2 separate regions of the Homo sapiens genome follow, and region 1 is linked to region 2. Evidence: promoter capture Hi-C in 16 types of primary human blood cells and fetal thymus (Javierre and others, 2016). All regions are on one chromosome and are shown on one strand. Each heading gives the region's core, a stretch centred on a gene start or on the middle of the fragment in contact. The rest is flanking DNA. Distances are from core to core; before and after follow the strand shown. Region 1 has its middle 29 kb from the start of FAM184A. Region 2 holds the start of MCM9 (minichromosome maintenance 9 homologous recombination repair factor).

Region 1 (3,730 bases), core at 1,202-3,701, 170 kb before region 2:
ATTTACAAAGAGAGAATATTGAAGAAATAACTTTCTAAGTAGAAAGGAAAAAAGACAAGAAAGGATGCAGATGTTTGGCTTGTTTGTGGCATGAAAGGAAGACTTGTTTTGGAAAATAGTGGGGAGTAGATTTAGGTTTGTAGTATTGAGTCAACTCATAGATGCCCTCAAAAGCTAGGAAGAAAACATTTGGAAGTTGAGTAGAAGTCACTTCTGTTTCCTGGAGCGTGGAGATTATTGGCTCAGGCATTCCCAACTCCACTCAAAGCTTTAATGGTTGGGAAACCCAGGAGCATCCCAGGTACCCAAGCTTGTACTGAGTGTCAGCTCCTGAGCCAGCAGCTCTCTTCACTCTCCATCAAACTCCATCCATCAATCCCTGGGTGACTCCTTCCAAAGAGGGAACCAACCCAACCTCCAGAGGGTACTGTCATTTTCAATCCATGAAGAGGATTGCAGGCACTCCCTGCAATTTGAAGAGAAGATTATGATTTGAAAAGGTAGACAGTCTTTTAAAAAGTCAAGAAAAAGTTTTTAAGAGTGACAACCCCAGTACACCATCATGGAATTTCGGCAGAGGCAAAGAAAAAAAAAATTGCCACCAGTGCTGGCCACCTTCTAGAGCTGCTGACTTGGAGGAAGCAAACTAAAGTGCAGAGGACCTCAATAGAGCCTGGATGGGGTAGAGGCTATTTAACAGCATTTCAGAAGAGAGAAGAGACTCGAGTTCTTGGTGATGGTTCCACTCTGCTCCAGACAGGTGCTCCAATCTCATTCAACAAAAATTATTCGGTGAGAGTGTCAAGGGGAATTTGCCCATCATATATCAAGGCATCAAAAGGTCTCGATGAGTGACTCATATTTACTACAAACAAGGAAGAAAATGAATGTCATGGCAACCATACAAGAACCCTACACACCACACACACACACACACACACACTAACAAGTGCTTCTCAAACTTTCAAATTTGGGAATTATGTGAAGAGCTCATTAAAACACAGATTCTAACCTCACTACCAGAATTCCTGATTCTGCTCTCTGGAGAACCCTAGTCACGCATAGAACAATACCTGATTAACCTTTTATTCCAATTCAGTTCATATTTGTAAAGAATGTTGTCACCTAATAAATATGTCTTAAATTTCTTTAGAATACTAAGAGCAGTTCTCCAAGGAACACTTGCCCAGCAACAGCATCTCCAACAATGAACTGACAATAACTCTGGCTTTGAAACTTGAGGACCAATGAACTCTGAACTCTGTTCTTTTCTTTCTTTTTTTTTTTTTTTTTTGAGACAAAGTCTCACTCTGTCACCCAGGCTGGAGTGCAGTGGCGAGATCTCGGTTCACTGCAACTTCCTCCTCCCAGGTTCAAGCAATTCTCCTGCCTCAGCCTCCCGAGTAGCTGGAATTACAGGTGCATGCCACCATGCCCAGCTAATTTATTTTGTTTTGTTTAGGTTTTTTATTAGAGACAAATTATTTTCACTACATTGGCCAGGCTGGTCTCGAACTCCTGACTTCAGGTGATCCGCCCACCTTGGCCTCCCAAAGTGCTGGGATTGCAGGCATGAGCCACTGTGCCCAGCCGAATGAACTCTGCTTCTAAGCAGTTTATGTAAGACTCTTTTTTGCTAATAAAAGCTCCTCTTACCCTTCCCTCACCAAATAAATGCACTGGTAGCTTGCCATTCCATGCACTCCAAATTATAATCTTTACTTCTATTCCTGAGTAAATCCATCATATTTAGAGATAATTTTTTCTAGTGTCTTTTTTTTCAGAATAACATTGATAATATTAGTAAACATAAGTATTTTAAAACTTAAGAATCCCATGACAACCTAAGAAAGGTGTATGAACATAAGTTTCCATGAGACAGATGATTGGCTTTGGCAGACTGAAATCATGTAGAAACTATTTTCATATGCAGCTTATACATTTAATGTTTACTACACATTAAGTGGTATTTCTCACTAACAATTCCATATTACAATTTCAGGATAATAGATTTATCCCAAATTTTGATATTCCCTTGAGAGCTGTGAAAGTAATATATGGCCTACAAAAACATTTCAGGAAATGAGTAACTTGGATAAATTAGTGCAACAAATGTTTATGGCTTTTTCTCATTTTTGGAAAAAGTTACTCCTAATTACCAATCTCTGTCTTCTTCCAGAACCTTTCCCATTCACCGTAACTTACCAGATTTTTTTCAGTGAATATCTGTATTTACAAAGAACTTTTTGTAGTGTGAAATAAACCTTACCTCCCAAACAGTTTTCATGCCTTATTACTTTACTTTGTTACAACATCTTTGTGCCACATAAGATAATTACAATTAGTCCTTTTTAGAGATGAGAAAACTGAGGCACAAAAAGATTAAGTAATTTACCGAAGCCCTTCCAGTTAATTAGTTTCAAAACTAAAGTTAGAGCCAACCAATTAAGTAGTTATACTGAGTTTACTCTGAATAATTCATATGACCTCTAGTTATAAAAGTTAAACTAATAGCCTGATGGCATAGCCAGTAGTTGGCTTACTTTTCAAAATCATAAGACTGTGAAAGCAGATGAGAAGACGAAAGGTCCCACTCTGAGTAATAGCCATACAAATGATCATTTAATACATTCTCTTTTTAAATATGTCAGTTTGGTTTTTTGTTTGTTTGTTTGTTTTGAGACGGAGTCTCGCTCTGTCGCCCACCCTGGAGTGCAGTGGCACAATCTCATCTCACTGCAAGCTCCGCCTTCCTGGGTTCAAGCCATTCTCCCGTCTCAGCCTCCTGAGTAGCTGGGGCTACAGGCGCGCACCACCACGCCCGGCTAATTTTTTGTATTTTTAGTAGAGACGGGATTTCACCGTGTTAGCCAGGATGGTCTCGATCTCCTGACCTTGTGATCCGCCCGCCTCGGCCTCCCAAAATGCTGGGATTACAGGCATGAGCCACTGCGCCCGGCATCAGTTTGGTTTTTTTAATAGCATTTCTTTTCCTAGCAGTATCCAATTCACGAATGACAATTTTTAAAAAGCATGCCAAAAATCTGAGACAATTATGTGACCTTAAACAGTGATGTGGTTTGTTTAAATATGGAGCTGGTAATTTACTGAGATTCAGCTGTTCATGACTGATATCTTCACGTTAGTTATACATACTTAATTAATTAAAATTAATGTTTGCCAACTAACTATGCATCTGGGCAATAAATGTGCTTGATATTTGCTGTCAAAGTACAGATTATAATAAATTTCTGCAATGCGTATGGTTTTCTAAATGTATTTCTATTATTGAAAGGGCAAGACCAGCTTTGTATTAGATGAAAATTATTGGGAAAATGGGAGACATAGCTCAAAACTGAAGGTACCTGTTTGCAGCCCATATATTCTTTAAATAAACTTTTTTTAGAACAATTTTAGATTTACAGAAAAATTGTGAGGGTAGTTGTATTAGTCCGTTTTCACACTGCTGTAAAGAACCACGTGAGACTGAGTAATTTATGAAGAAAAGAGGTTTAATTGACTCACAGTTCTGCAGGCTTAATAGGAAACATGACTGGGAAGCCTCAGGAAACTGAATCATGGTGGAAGGCAAAGGGGAAGCAAGCAGGTCTTACCATGGTGGAGCAGGAGAGACAGCGAGTGAGGGGGGAAATGCCACACACTTTTAAACCATCAGATCTCAGGAGAACTCACTCACTATCCCGAGAACAGCAGAGGGGAAATCCACCCC
Region 2 (3,903 bases), core at 44-2,543:
GGCATTCCTTTTTAGCAACACAGACTAAGACACTATCAAAGAACAACTGAAAATTTAAAATGTCATTTACATAATATCAAGAAGTATATTTTTCCCCCATCCTTAGATTTATGGATAAATCTGACATAGGGTGATATGGTTTGGCTGTGTCCCTGCCCAAACCTCATCTTGAACTGTAGTTACCATAATCCCCAGGTGTTGTGGGAGGGACCCGGTGGGAGGTAACTGAATCATGGGGGTGGTTATTCCCATGCTGTTCTCTGATAGTGAGTGAGGTATCACAAGATCTGATGGTTTTCTAAGGGGCTTTTCCCTCCTTGCTCCTCACTTCTCCTTCCTGCAGCCCTGTGAAGAAGGAGGTTTGCTCCCGCTTCTGCCATGATTTTAAGTTTCCTGAAGTCTCCCCAGCCATGCTGAACTGTAAGTCAATTAAACGTCTTTCCTTTATAAATTACTCAGTCCCAGGTATGTCTTTATTAGCACTGTGAAAATGGACTATATAAGACTAGACCTGACAAAAGATCAAAACATTTGCTGAGTGAAATAACACCTAAATAAATGAAGAGGCTTACTTTAAGGGTCATTACTAAATATTGTTAACATGTAAATTATTCTTACATGGATCTATAGACGAAATGTAACCAATCACAATCCCAACTTTTTAAAGTGACAAGCTGATTTTAACATTCATATGAAAACCCAAGGGACTAGATGAGCCAGAACATTTTTGAAAAATAACAAAAAATTGGAGGCCAAACACGATCTGATTTTAAGACTCTTACGAATCTACAGGAATCAAGACAATGTGGTATTTTTGTAGAGAGAAATATAATAAATTGTCGGAACAGAATAGAAAGTCTAAGAATAGACCCACAACTGATGCTTTAGGGACAACTGATTTTAAACATAGGTGCAAAAGCTATTCAGTGAGAAAAAGAAAGCTCTCTAAACAAATGACACTATTCACATACAAAAAAATGACCTAAGATCCATACTTTGCACCACAGACAAAAATTAGCTCTAATTGGATCACAGACCTCAATATAAAACCTAAAATTCTAAAACTTGTGTCAGAAAACACAGAAGAGATCCTCTGTGGCCTTGGGTTAGGCAAATTCCTTGGACAGACAAAAAACAAACCCTAAGATCCGATCTGAGCCGCCGCACAACCCTGCTCTGGCCACTTAGCCTGAGGTCACTGCTCGGGTCCCGCCCCTCTCCCCGCCCGGGACCCTCCTGGCTCCGCCCCAATCCGCCCGCTCCGCTCCACCCCGCCCCGCTGCCTCGTCTCCATCCGGAAGAGCCGCCGGGGCAGGGAAGTTGAGGCGGTGCGCGGCCCGGCGTCGGTCGAGAGCGCAGGCCCGGCAGAGCCGCAGGCGCTAGGCCGCCCGACACAGCCCGCGCGTCCCCGCGGCCGGTGGCGCCTCGAGCGGCCACGTGCACGCGCGCACTCCGCCTCACCAGCCTTCTTGCGCCGGAGACGAACCCGCTGCCTGGCTGGAGCTCTCTGGGCCCTTCGGCCTCGGGAGCAACGCGTTCCCGGCGACTTCTGACACAGCCAGTAAGTGATAGCCGCCTCCTCCTTTCGCGGTTATGTTTTTCTCCAGTTCGTCCCAAGTCTCGTTCCCGTCTCATTACTTCAAAAACTATTCAACTCCGGGACCGGACAGGCACGGGAGCTGCCCGGGAGAAGAGCCCCAGAAGTCTCAGAGACTGCCAAGGTGTTGTGGGGCAGGGGCTGCGTGCAAAGACCCTGTGAATTAGAAAGTTTGGAAAGCATGCCTCCAAAACCGAGCGACTCCACGTTTGCCAGGCGCCCCTGGGGCAGCCGAGCGGCCCGGAGGCGCGAAATGGCGCGCCCCCGCAGTGAGAGGGGCGGAGGGAGTGGGGCGGGGCCGAGGGCGCGCGTCCCGCCAGCCCGCGCGGAGGGGGCGGGGCTCCCGGCAGGTGCAGGCGGGCGGGGCGGGGCTGCCGCGATTCCCGGAGACAGCTGGGGGATGCCAGTGCAGTTAGGCACTCTCCTGTCTTCTTTTCGACGCTTCGCTGTGGTCAAGAGGACAAAGTAAAGCAAATGATTTTATTTTGACCCCAAATATTCAATAAGAAAAGGAAAGAGAACTTGAAAGTTGTGAAATGACCCTTCTCAAAACAAAAAGTCCCTCCAGTGTCTATCTGGGTGGGTAGTAGGTACGTTTATTGATTTAGCAAACTGCTGATAACACAGTTGATTAGTCAGTTTTGCATAGATGTTGAAAGGGAATGAATAACGATGGTCCATATAACCATAGAAATGCTAGCCTAACTAGGCAAAATTTAATCTGACCTTAATTTGAACGTTGAATTCTGCTGCTGCCCTTTTCCTGCCTTGTGTGGAGCTGTTTTTCAAATTGCTAAATTTGTGGCTCTAAACTTAATATGCTTTAATAGAATCATAGTGATTCTCTTGTAGCCACTGTTGGGAGTCCAGATTTTTTTTTTTTTTTTTTTGGGCAAAGTCCACATTGTGGAGATATTCCTTCCCAAGTGCTTTTTCTGCTTTACACTTGGCTGAATTTATATTGCTTAACCAAAAACAAATTACCGTGGAGGCCGTAATTTATTTCCACTCATTGTTTTGGATATACATTTACTCATTCTTACTCTCACTCTGGCCTCCTATAGTGGTCAGGATTCTTGACCTAACTGCTATATGTACTTCTTAAACGTTTCACACCTTGCGGAATAGTAGGTTCTCAGAGAAAGCAAAATATAGCAAATAGCGTGTATAACACGTACTTAGGATGATAAACTGTGAACTTTATAGCAGTCTCCTTTAATATTCGTATTTGTAGAGTCCAGTACAATAAATGTTGGACAAATGAAGTAAGTCAAATTTAAGTACACCTCTTCTCCAGTCCTCAATCTCTTTCCAAACGAAATAAGTGTTTCTCTCTTTTTTTTTTTTTTTGAGGCGGAGTCTCGCTCTGTGCCCGGGCTGGAGTGCAGTGGCGTGGTCTCGGCTCACTGCAAGCTCCGCCTCCCGGGTTCACGCCATTCTCCTGCCTCAGCCTCCTGAGTAGCTGGGACTTCAGGCACCTGCCACCACGCCCAGCTAATTTTTTTTGTATTTTTTTTTAGTAGAGAACGGGATTTCACCGTGTTAGCCAGGATGGTCTCGATCTCCTGACCTCGTGATCCACCTGCCTCGGCCTCCCAAAGTGCTGGGATTACAGGCGTGAGCCACTGCGCCCGGCCCCAAATAAGTGTTTCTTATTTGGACAGCTGGTTTCTAACTGTCCAGTGCTACTTCTGAGATCGTCACCTCATTTAAATTTAACCTCCCTCTCCTTTGACTCCTATTCATATTGCATTTTTGACCACTGGTAGTGCACTGTTTCGTTTTATTTGCCCCTTGGATTTCTGAGGACATAGAGAACCTTTTACTATACTTTTCATTTGCCAGCATAGTGCCTTGTACATGATAGATATTAGGAAATGGACATTGAATTGGGTTTATACATATGTAATTTGTTATCCGTCTGTATACATGAAACTAGAATGGGGATAGGTGCTTTTTATCTGTAGATACATACTTTTTAATAGAGTGCCAGGGGAATGAGATAAAGTAATGGTATATGCTGTATTTATTTTCAATAATACTTTTTTATTATTTGAAGACTCAGTGTTTTTTCACCTTCCTATGTTTATCTGTTTTCTTTGCATTGTTGACAGCTGTTTCTGCAGAACCCAGTAGATTTCCTACGGTAAGAAAGAGAAAGAAGGAAACAAATTCACTTCCAAGTATGAATTTCTAAGGACAGTCTGTTAATTATTCATGTCAGAACTGGCTGTCAGTCTGATTAATGGTATGTGTTTCAGTTACATAGCAGAATACACATGAGTGTGTGTGTATAACTAAAGAGA

Evidence for each region. The method cuts DNA at HindIII sites, captures the fragments that hold promoters and counts their contacts. A CHiCAGO score of 5 or more calls a contact.
Region 1: a fragment that was not itself captured here is called in contact with the fragment with the promoter of MCM9 in region 2 in 1 of 17 cell types (activated CD4 T cells); the score reaches 5.5 in activated CD4 T cells.

The regions. Positions count from the first base shown.
Region 1 is chr6:119,105,342-119,109,071 of GRCh38, reverse strand. It overlaps a transcript of FAM184A not described here. Among named protein-coding and RNA genes, the nearest start is that of FAM184A, 29 kb to the right of the region's middle. The HindIII fragment of the contact is 4,278 bases long and covers 313-3,730 here.
Region 2 is chr6:118,932,549-118,936,451 of GRCh38, reverse strand. MCM9 (minichromosome maintenance 9 homologous recombination repair factor) reads left to right here and starts at 1,293. Exons shown (of 14, transcript NM_017696.3): 1 at 1,293-1,561; 2 at 3,712-3,845. LOC124901389 (a long non-coding RNA gene) reads right to left here and starts at 1,537. Exons shown (of 2, transcript XR_007059729.1): 1 at 1,462-1,537. RefSeq lists silencers at 1,115-1,544, 1,795-2,044. The HindIII fragment of the contact is 20,540 bases long and covers 1-3,903 here.